Linked DNA regions of Homo sapiens: all the other regions are linked to region 3. The links are contacts of gene promoters, found by promoter capture Hi-C in human tissues and cell types (Jung and others, 2019). All regions are on one chromosome and are shown on one strand. Each heading gives the region's core, a stretch centred on a gene start or on the middle of the fragment in contact. The rest is flanking DNA. Distances are from core to core; before and after follow the strand shown.

Region 1 (3,345 bases), core at 680-3,179, 230 kb after region 3:
GGGACCTTTTTTGTTTTGTTGATCACTGTTAGCTTACCCAGTTCCTACCTAGAAGAGATGCCTAACACATAACGGGCGCTCAATATTTACTACGCCTTAATGGGGAAGATTAGGAACCATGAATAAAAATTAATCTTCTTGAGGCTGAGGCAGGAGAATGGCGTGAACCTGGGAGGCGGAGCTTGCAGTAAGCCGAGATGGTGCCACTGCATTCCAGCCTGAGCGACAGAGCAAGACTCCATCTCAAAAAAAAAAAAATTTCATCTTCTTCACAATTAGCCTAGTGCTGGACTTCATTATGCAAGTTGGTACTAAATTATACTAAGTATGCAAAAAGGATTACAATACATCTTAAAACCTTCTTAATTTTGCTAATTCAGAATTTGTGACAATTTAACCTAGATTATGTGGAAATTTATTTTTGAACCCTAATAAGGAAATAATTTATTAAATTATTAGTATAAACAAGCTTGTAGAAGGCATGTGAAACTAATGAATAAACTATTTGAAAAGACTCTTTAATTCATTAACTTTTTTGTAAGTTAACACGTGTTATTAATACAAATAAGTGTTAAAAAAACTAGCTTGGAAAAATTTGTTTAGTGTTAATTCCATTATCTTTAAATGAGTTGATGATTAGTCTTTAAAATATTCAAATGTTTAGGCTTTTCAGTAATTCAGACTGACCTACACTCAAGTTAGTTCAAATGAATGTTTTACTACATCATAACTCCAGTTATATTTGTAGATCATAAACTGTAGAAAAAAAAGGATAAAGAGATTGCAAGACTTACATATTTTTTCTGTAAAGCATCATAACATCCTAGCATCCTAAAAAAAAAATCAAGGATTCATTTTTAGACTGAATGCATTTCCAGAAAATAGTTATTTTCATAAATTTCCATATTATCTCATTACTAAATAATACAAAAATGTCTTATTAAAGCTCCCTTCTTATTAACTAGCTTAAAACAAGACAAAACATAAAAAACAATGTGGCAGAAATGTAAAATGATGATAGAGATGGAAGGGAAAATACAAAATATCTGACAGCTATTTGTGGGGAACAATAATAAAATAAATAAAGCCTGCTTGCATGGGGCACAAAATAAAGAAACATTTATTTTTAAAATTTATTTTTCCAAATACCCAGACTTCAAGGAGAGGAAAACTTCGGTGGAAAATTTAATGACCTACAAAAATGCTATCTAGCATTAAAGGGTGATTCACTAAAATTTGGTTAAACACCAAAGGTATCCAAGGTACAAAAAAAAGTAAAATGAGAAAAAAATAATTTTCTCTCTTTAGGTATTCTTTTACTTGCCATTTCACTAACTGTGTAGATCCTGGGCAATTTTTATCTTCTCTCAGTATTTTGACACAAAGATCTAAACACAAAAATGATGAAATATAGAGTTACTTAAGAAAAGTAAACAACTAGAAATTTTAAATGAAGTTTATTTTCTTCTGCTGTGTATTACAGGTAAATTATTATTATAATTATTATTATTTTGAGACAGGGTCTCACTCTATCACCCAGGATGGAGTGCGGTGACATGATCTCGGCTCACTGGAACTTCTGCCTTCCGAGTTCAAGCCATTCTCCCACCTCAGCCTCCCCAGTAGCTGGGACTTCAGGTGCGCCACCATGACCGGCTAATTTTTGTATTTTTTGGTAGAGACAGGGTTTCCTCATGTTGGGCAGACTAGTCTCGAACTCCTGACCTCAGGTGACCCGCCTGCCTCAACCTCCCAAAGTGCTGGGATTACAGGCGTGAGCCACCTTGCCCAGCACAGGTAAATTATTAATAGCAATAATTAATATTATTAATGTAATTAAAGGAAGAAAGGTTATATGAAAGTAGTATTTTAATATTTATTATAAGATGCCATCATAATAATTAGGATGCAAGCTGATGGGTACAAAAATATTTCATAAAAAACTTATAGAATCCATGAAATTAGATATGTTGCTTTCATGCCATTGTTATACAAGAATCTTAGAATCTTATCCCAGTAAAATACTTGTAAAGGCCAAGAACTTAACGGGCTATCAAAAACAAAGAGGCCTGCAAAGAAGCAACATGTAACACAGTGGAAAAGACTGAGAGTCTCTCATATCCTCAGGTACCTTAATTGAAAAACAGGTATTTGTAAGACTGCTACATGAATTAACAAGATATCGTATATAACATAGTGCTTAACATATTGCCCAGCACATAACTGGTGTACAATATTATGCATGTATAATGTACTGAGAAATAAGTTATTATTGTAGTATAAACTGGCTGTATTATTATTATTATTTTAATTTAAAAAATAGAGATGGAGTCTCCTTATGTTGACCAGGCTGGTCTTGAATTCCTGGCCTCAAGTGATCCTCCTGCCTCAGCCTCCCAAAGTGCTGGGATTACAGACGTGAGCTTCCACGCCTGGCCCTGGCTGTATTATTTTTACTTCCTTAAAATAGCACAAGAACATACACTACTACTGTATGTTTTCTATTGATTTCTTTCATCATTATAAGCATAATTTCAGGTAAAATTATACTTGAGAAACTGAGGAAAAATTTTATGATTAAGTGCTTCTAAAGGTATTGAATATATATATATATGTATATATTTTAAAACCATTTAGTTATCCAAACAAAAACAAAAACTTGTACATCAGTGCGGCATTATTCATAATAGCCAAAAAGAGAACCCAAATGTTCATCAACTAATAAAGGGATAAATAAAATGTGGTACAGCCATGCAATAGAACATTATTCAGCAACAAAAAGGGATGAAGCACTGATCCATGCTACAATACGGAGGAACCTTGAAAACATGCTAAGTGAAAGCCAGTCACAAAGGACCACTTTTTTTTTTTTTTTTTTTTTTTTTTTTTTTGAGACTGAGTCTTGCTCTGTTGCCAGGCTGGAGTGCAGTGGCACAATCTCGGCTCACTGCAACCTCCGCCTCCCGGGTTCAAGCGATTCTCCTGCTCAGCCTCCCAAGTAGCTGGGACTACAGGCATGCACCACCATGCCCGGCTAATTTTTGTATTTTTAGTAGAGACGGGGTTTCACCATGTTGGCCAGGATGGTCTCCATCTCTTGACTTTGTGATCCGCCCGCCTCGGCCTCCCAAAGTGCTGGGATTACAGGCGTGAGCCACTGCACCCGGCCAGGACCACATTTTATATTATTTCATTTATATGAAATGTCCAGAGTAAGTAAATCTGTACAGACAGAAAGTAGATTGGTGATTGCCTAGGACTGGGAAGGTTGAGGGGAAGTGCACAGTGCCTTAAGGGGTATGGAGTTTCTTCTTGGGATGAAGAAATGTTCTAAAATTGACTGTG
Region 2 (3,039 bases), core at 241-2,740, 170 kb after region 3:
TGTGTGTGTGTCTTTAATTCCTCTAGCGCCACTGGGTTAGGGTCTCCACAACTGAGCTGGTCTCGGCAAGATTAATATCCAGAATATATATAAAGAACCTCTGGCCAGGCACAGTGGCTCATGCCTGTAATCCCAGCATTTTGGGAGACCAAGATGGGTAGACTGTCTGAGCTCAGGAGTTCAGAGACCAGCCTGGGTGACATAGCAAAACCCCATCTCCACCAAAAACACAAAAAATTAGCCAGGTGTGATGGTGCGCACCCATAGTCCCAGTTACTTGGGAGGCTGAGGTGGGAGGATCCTTGAGCCCGGGAGATAGAGGTTGCAGTGAGCCGAGATTGCACCACGGCACTCCATCCTGGGTGACAGAGTGAGACCGCATCTCATAAATAAATACAAAAAAACCTCAACAACAACAAAACAATCAAACTTAAAAATGGGAAAAGTATTTTATATTTCTCCAAAGAAGATATATAAATGGTCAGTAAGCACATAAAAATATGCTCAATATTTTTAGTCATTAGGAATGACATGAAAACTATTTTCATTTGAAAATAAAAATCAAAACCACAATGAGATAACATTTTAGGCCTACTCGGATGTCTATAATTAAAAAAAAGAAAAGAAAGAGAAGAACAAGTGGTGATCAGCATGTGGACAAATTGGAACCCTGGTGCATACTGGTGGGAATATAAAATGGTGCAGTCTCTGTGGAAATGTTTGGTGATTTCTCAAAAGGTTAAACATAAAACTGCTATATGACCCAGCAATTCTATTCCTAGGTATATATCCAAAAGAATTAAAAACAGGAACTTGAACAGATATTTGTGTATCAATGTTCACAGCAGCATTATTCACAATAGCCAAAAGGTGGAAACAAGGCAAGTGTCCATCAACAGATGAATGGTTAAACGAAAGTGTTATATACATACAACGGAATATCACTCAGCCATAAACAGGAATGAAATTTTGATATATGCTGTGACATGAATGGACCTTGAAAACATTATGCTTGGTGAATAAGCTAGGGAAAGTAATGACAGATATTGTATGATTCTACTTATATGAGGTACCTAGAGTAAGCAAATTCATAGAAAAAGAAAGTAGAATAGAGGTTGCCAGGGACTGGGGGGAGAGAGAAAGAGGAAGTTATCATTTAATAGGTACAGAGTTTTAATGGGTAATGATGAGGAAGCTTTGGGTATAGTATAGATAGAGGTGACGGTTACAAAATATTGCAAATATATTTAATTTCACAGAATTGTACACTTAAGAATGGCTAAAATAATAATAAATGTTGGCTGGGCGCGGTGGCTCACGCCTGTAATCCCAGCACTTTGGGAGGCCAAGGCGGGCAGATCACGAAGTCAAGAGTTCGAGACAAGCCTGGCCAATATGGTGAAACCCTGTCTCTACTAAGAATACAAAAATTAGCCAGGCGTGGTGGCACGTGCCTGTAATCCCAGCTACTTGGGAGGCTGAGGCAGGAGAATTGCTTGAACCCGGGAGGCAGAGGTTGCAGTGAGCTGAGATTGCATCACTGTACTCCAGCCTGGACGACAGAGCAAGACTCCATCTCGAAATAATAATAATAATAATAAATGTTATGTATATTTTACCACAGTAAGAATGTTACTCGTTGATTTACATATGACCCAGTTATCTACTCCTAGCTACATACCCACAAGAAATGAAAACATGTTCAAACAAAAACTTGTCCGTGCGTGTTCACAGCAGCATTATTCACAATACCCAAAATGTGGAAATAACTCAAAGATTCATCAACTGATGACTGGATAAACAAATGTGGTATGGCCATGCAATAAAATATTATTTGGCAAATTAAAACTGGGAAATTCTAATAAGAATAATAGACTGCATCAATGCCAATATTCTCATTGTCCTCTCAATAAAGATGTTTTAAAAGTTTCTTGTGAAGAATACTATTTAAGGGCTTTTGGGGTGGGGTGGCAGAAGATAAGGTGAAGCTTTGGAAAACTTTAGGTATCAATTAACCATGCTTTTTCTGTCCCTCATTAGAATTAAATAGTGAACCACATCTATCTCATCCAGCACGATGAATTTCGGTACATCTTTTACTAAATTTCAGGGTAGGATAAAGATAACAAAGTGTGAAATTCATATATTATTTTAAGTCATCTTACCAGTGAGTAGCTCTATCCATGTTTGGACAGTTTCTGTGGGTTCAGTTGCTTTGATGTGTTTCAGAGTTTCATCCAGTAAAACATCACCTGTTGGGCTGTCTGACTTTAGCAGTACCTTTGAGAAAAGGAGAAAGAAGGAACCCTGATTCCTTCACTTCATTCAAGTTAAAATCTTTCAATATATCATGTATATGTTACTGGTTAAAAATTGCAAGAATGTAAGGAAGCATAATATACTGTCTCTGTCCTCAAGAAGTTTAAAATATAGTATGGAGTGATAGTGCAAAGACAAAAATAACATTTGAAGTGGGCCCTAGTGACAAACTGGATATGAATGATAATGGAGAAAAGTTTCAATAACAACTCATTTTGAGTCTGGAAACCAACTTTTGAAACCATTAATAAAGGTAGGAAACAGCTGGGCTCAGTGGCTCATGCCTGTAATCTTAGCACTTTGGGAGGCTGAGGCGGGTGGATCACCTGAGCTCAGGAGTTTGAGACCAGCCTGGGCAAAATGGCAAAATCTTTTCTCTATTAAAAAAATAAAAATTTAAATAAATAAATAAATAAATAAACAAAGGCAGGAAAGTCAGAAAAGGAAGTCAGTTTTGGGGAAAGGTTGATAATTTGGTTTTCTTTCATTTTTGTTAAGTTTGGTTTTAAATGATATGGGATAGCCAAGTTGAAATTTCTAGCCAATAGTTAAATATGTTTCTGGAGGTGGAAAAACAAGACCTGCCTAGAAATTTGAAAATTAATCTCATGAAGGTGACAGACGAAGCTATAAAGGTAAATGATATCTCTGAAAGGACAGAAGATCACTCAAGTGATACAAACTGAGACTTGGATGTTAAGAAATGGAGAAGTAAGGAAA
Region 3 (3,294 bases), core at 715-3,214:
GCAGAGAGCTAAAATTCTAGTCAGGCACCTCTTTCTGAGGTGATGGGGGAGTATACTGGGAGCAAACTCTTCTAGAGAAAGCATGGTGTGGTAAAAGAAAACCAAGCTTGGATTCAGAAATCACCATCAGCACTTGCTGTTTGACCTTAAATTCCTCATCTGTCAGATTAAAAGGTCTCGGCCGGGCATGGTGGCTCACGCCTGTAATCCCAGCACTTTGGGAGGCTGAGGCAGGCGGATCACCTGATGCTGGGAGTTCGGGACCAGCCTGACCAACATGGAGAAACCCTGTCTCTACTAAAAATACAAAATTAGCTGGGCCTGGGGTGGCACATGCCTGTAATCCCAGCTACTCGGGAGGCTGAGGCAGGAGAAGCGCTTGAACCTGGGGAGGCGGAGGTTGCGGTAAGCCGAGATCACGCCACTGCACTCCAGCCTGGGCAACAAGAGTGAAACTCCATCTCAAAAAAAAAAAAAAAAGATTAAAAGGTCTATAAAGTCCCTATTAAGCACCATGAGTATAAAGGGACTCAAACTGACCTCTGCAGATTCTTGATTCCAGCTTTTTTGTTTTTGTTTTGTTTTGAGATGAAGTCTCGCTCTTGTCCCCCAGGCTGGAGTGCATGGCGTGATCTCGGCTCACTGCAACCTCCACCTCCCGGGTTCAAGCGATTCTCCTGTCTCAGCCTCCCAAGTAGCTGGGATTACAGGCGCCCACCACCATGCCCAGCTAATTTTTGTATTTTTAGTAGAGACGGGGTTTCACCATGTTGGCCAGGCTGGTCTAGAACTCCTGACCTCAGGTGATCCACCCGCCTCGGCCTCCCAAGTAGCTGGGATTACAGGCGCCCACCACCACGCCCAGCTAATTTTTGTATTTTTAGTAGAGACGGGGTTTCACCATGTTGGCCAGGCTGGTCTAGAACTCCTGACCTCAGGTGATCCACCTGCCTCGGCCTCCCAAAGTGCTGGGATTACAGCGTGAGCCACTGCGCGCGGCCATCTTTGCTCCAGCTTTAAAGTGGTTACTCCAGAGGCTGAGGTGGTCAGTTGAGCCCAGGAGGTCGAGACTGCAGTGAGCCATGATTGTACCCCTGCACTCCAGCCTGGGCAACGGTGAGACCTTGTCTCAAAATTAAAAAATAAAACTGTTACAGTCATTTATCATAATAGCTTCTTGTTGCTTTTGCCCATTACCAAAAAACCATGGGCCACACTAGACGATTTACATAAAATTTAACTCAACAATTGGGAGCAACACTATTCTCATTTTATAGTTGAGAAAATTGAGGCTTAGAGAAATTAAATAGGTCAGGCAAGGCGGCTCATGCCTGTAATTCCAGAACTCTGGGAGGCCGGAGCGCGGTGGCGGTTTGGTGGGGGGGAGGGGAGGGATTGCTTGAGGCCAGGAGTTCGAGACTACCCTGGCCAACATAGTGAGACCCGCCCCCCCCTCCCGCCCCCCCCGGTCTCTATTAAATAAATATGAGAAGTTTAATAATTTTCCCAAAATTACATAGTTAATGGCAGATCCAGAATTTACACTAGGTCTGTCTGGTTCCCCAGTCTATGCTCTTAAGTTTTGCTACTTGCTGTAAGGACCACGTAAAATAAAATGTATAGTTAAAGGGAAATTACTACCATTTCCTGTCTGGTTTTCTCCCACTCTCGCCCTCAAAAGTTCACCTGCCCTTGTCCTCAAAGCCACAGGACGCCTAATTGCTATTTTTGGGTTTCAGCTGAAACGCCACGGGTCTGGGGGAATAGCGAGGGTGTGTTACATTTTCGGTCTTCCGGTCAGCCGGAACCACTCACACCGCTGCTGGTGCTGTGTAGGGTGTACCTCTTCGGAGTTCCTGGAGGTGGTGCCAGACTAGAGTGGCAGCTGTAGTAACCAATAGACACGGACTTTGTTGGACCAGAAGCCAATGAAGAATTACGTGGAGGAGAAGCGGCGATAATCTGTTTGAGGATGTAGGCACTGGTGTGAAGGAACATGGCCCTGTATCAGAGGTGGCGGTGTCTCCGGCTCCAAGGTTTACAGGCTTGCAGGCTACACACGGTGCGTGAGGCACCCCCAAAGCTCCGATCCGCATCAGACTTAGCCCAGCCGAAGCCCCCAAATTTTTATGTTAACCCAGCCTCACGCCACTCCTCCTCTCCCTGGTCCTCCGAGTCCCCAGAAAAGGACTCGTATCTAAACTCGTTATCTAATTCTCGAGTTAGCGGTCTGGGGGACTCTGAGCTCGAAGGACCCCCAGCCTAGGGTCTTGTATCACCCAATCCCCTTAAAAAGTAGGAATTCGGACGAAGTCCACTTAACCATCCCAAAGTGCCATCATCTGCAATTCTAAGAAAGAATGATGGGACGTGTGTTACCTGCTAATATATCTTTCCCTCCAGGCAGTTGTGTCGACCCCTCCACGCTGGTTGGCAGAGCGGCTTGGCCTTTTTGAGGAGCTGTGGGCTGCTCAGGTAAAGAGATTAGCAAGCATGGCACAGAAGGAACCCCGGACTATTAAGATATCACTTCCTGGAGGCCAGAAAATTGATGCTGTGGCATGGAACACAACCCCCTACCAACTAGCCCGGCAGATCAGGTAACAGGCCCATCCTGTAACTACCAGGATTATCCTTCTGCCCCTTTACTTTCTCTTCACTTGAGCAGGGGAAGAAAACTTGGTCTGCTTGTTTCTGTTCCGTCCCCATTAAGATAGCCTTTCCTGAAGATTTTGTTTTTGTTTTTTGTTGTTGTTCTTTTATACAGACGGGGTCTCTCCATGTTGCCCAGGCTAGTCTTGAACTCCTGGGCTCAAGCGATCCTTCCATCTCAGCCTCCCGAAGTGCTGGGATTACAGGCATGAGCCACCAAACCCGGCCTGAGATTTGTTTTATCTGTATTAGTTTCTGCATCAGAGTCTCTGTCCTTTCATTGGGGAAAGAAATGAAAGCTTCTGTTGCTCTGGTAACTCATTTCACCTTTGCAAGTTTACAGTTGCTGAGAGATGAGCAACTTTCTCCCCACTGTGGATTGTAACCCTGTCTGTTTTAAATCATTAATTTACTTTTTAATAATTGATACATAATAATTGAACATATGAATGGGTATATGTGATATTTTGATATATGCATACAATATGTAATGATCAAATCAGGGTGTTCAGGATATCTGTTACCCCAAACATTTATCATTTCTTTGTGTTGGGACTATTTCAAATCTTCTAGCTATTTTGAAATATACAATAAATTATTATTAACTGTATTCACCCAACTCTGCTATGGAACATTAGAGCA

What was found. Contacts are between HindIII fragments. The study calls those that stand out against the background at their distance.
Region 1: a contact is called between a fragment that was not itself captured here and the fragment with the promoter of TARS2 in region 3, in 2 of the 25 tissues and cell types used here (H1 embryonic stem cells and dorsolateral prefrontal cortex).
Region 2: a fragment that was not itself captured here is called in contact with the fragment with the promoter of TARS2 in region 3 in 1 of the 25 tissues and cell types used here (spleen).

The regions. Positions count from the first base shown.
Region 1 is chr1:150,713,291-150,716,635 of GRCh38, forward strand. HORMAD1 (HORMA domain containing 1) reads right to left here. Exons shown (of 15, transcript NM_032132.5): 4 at 1,325-1,388; 5 at 795-831. Among named protein-coding and RNA genes, the nearest start is that of HORMAD1, 5.9 kb to the right of the region's middle. The HindIII fragment of the contact is 6,232 bases long and covers 1-3,345 here.
Region 2 is chr1:150,659,649-150,662,687 of GRCh38, forward strand. It overlaps GOLPH3L (golgi phosphoprotein 3 like), which reads right to left. Exons shown (of 5, transcript NM_018178.6): 4 at 2,166-2,280. Among named protein-coding and RNA genes, the nearest start is that of ENSA, 32 kb to the left of the region's middle. The HindIII fragment of the contact is 4,476 bases long and covers 1-3,039 here.
Region 3 is chr1:150,485,455-150,488,748 of GRCh38, forward strand. TARS2 (threonyl-tRNA synthetase 2, mitochondrial) reads left to right here and starts at 1,965. Exons shown (of 18, transcript NM_025150.5): 1 at 1,965-2,062; 2 at 2,404-2,600. The coding sequence starts at 1,997. RefSeq lists enhancers at 1,790-2,296, 1,790-2,059. The HindIII fragment of the contact is 6,321 bases long and covers 1-3,294 here.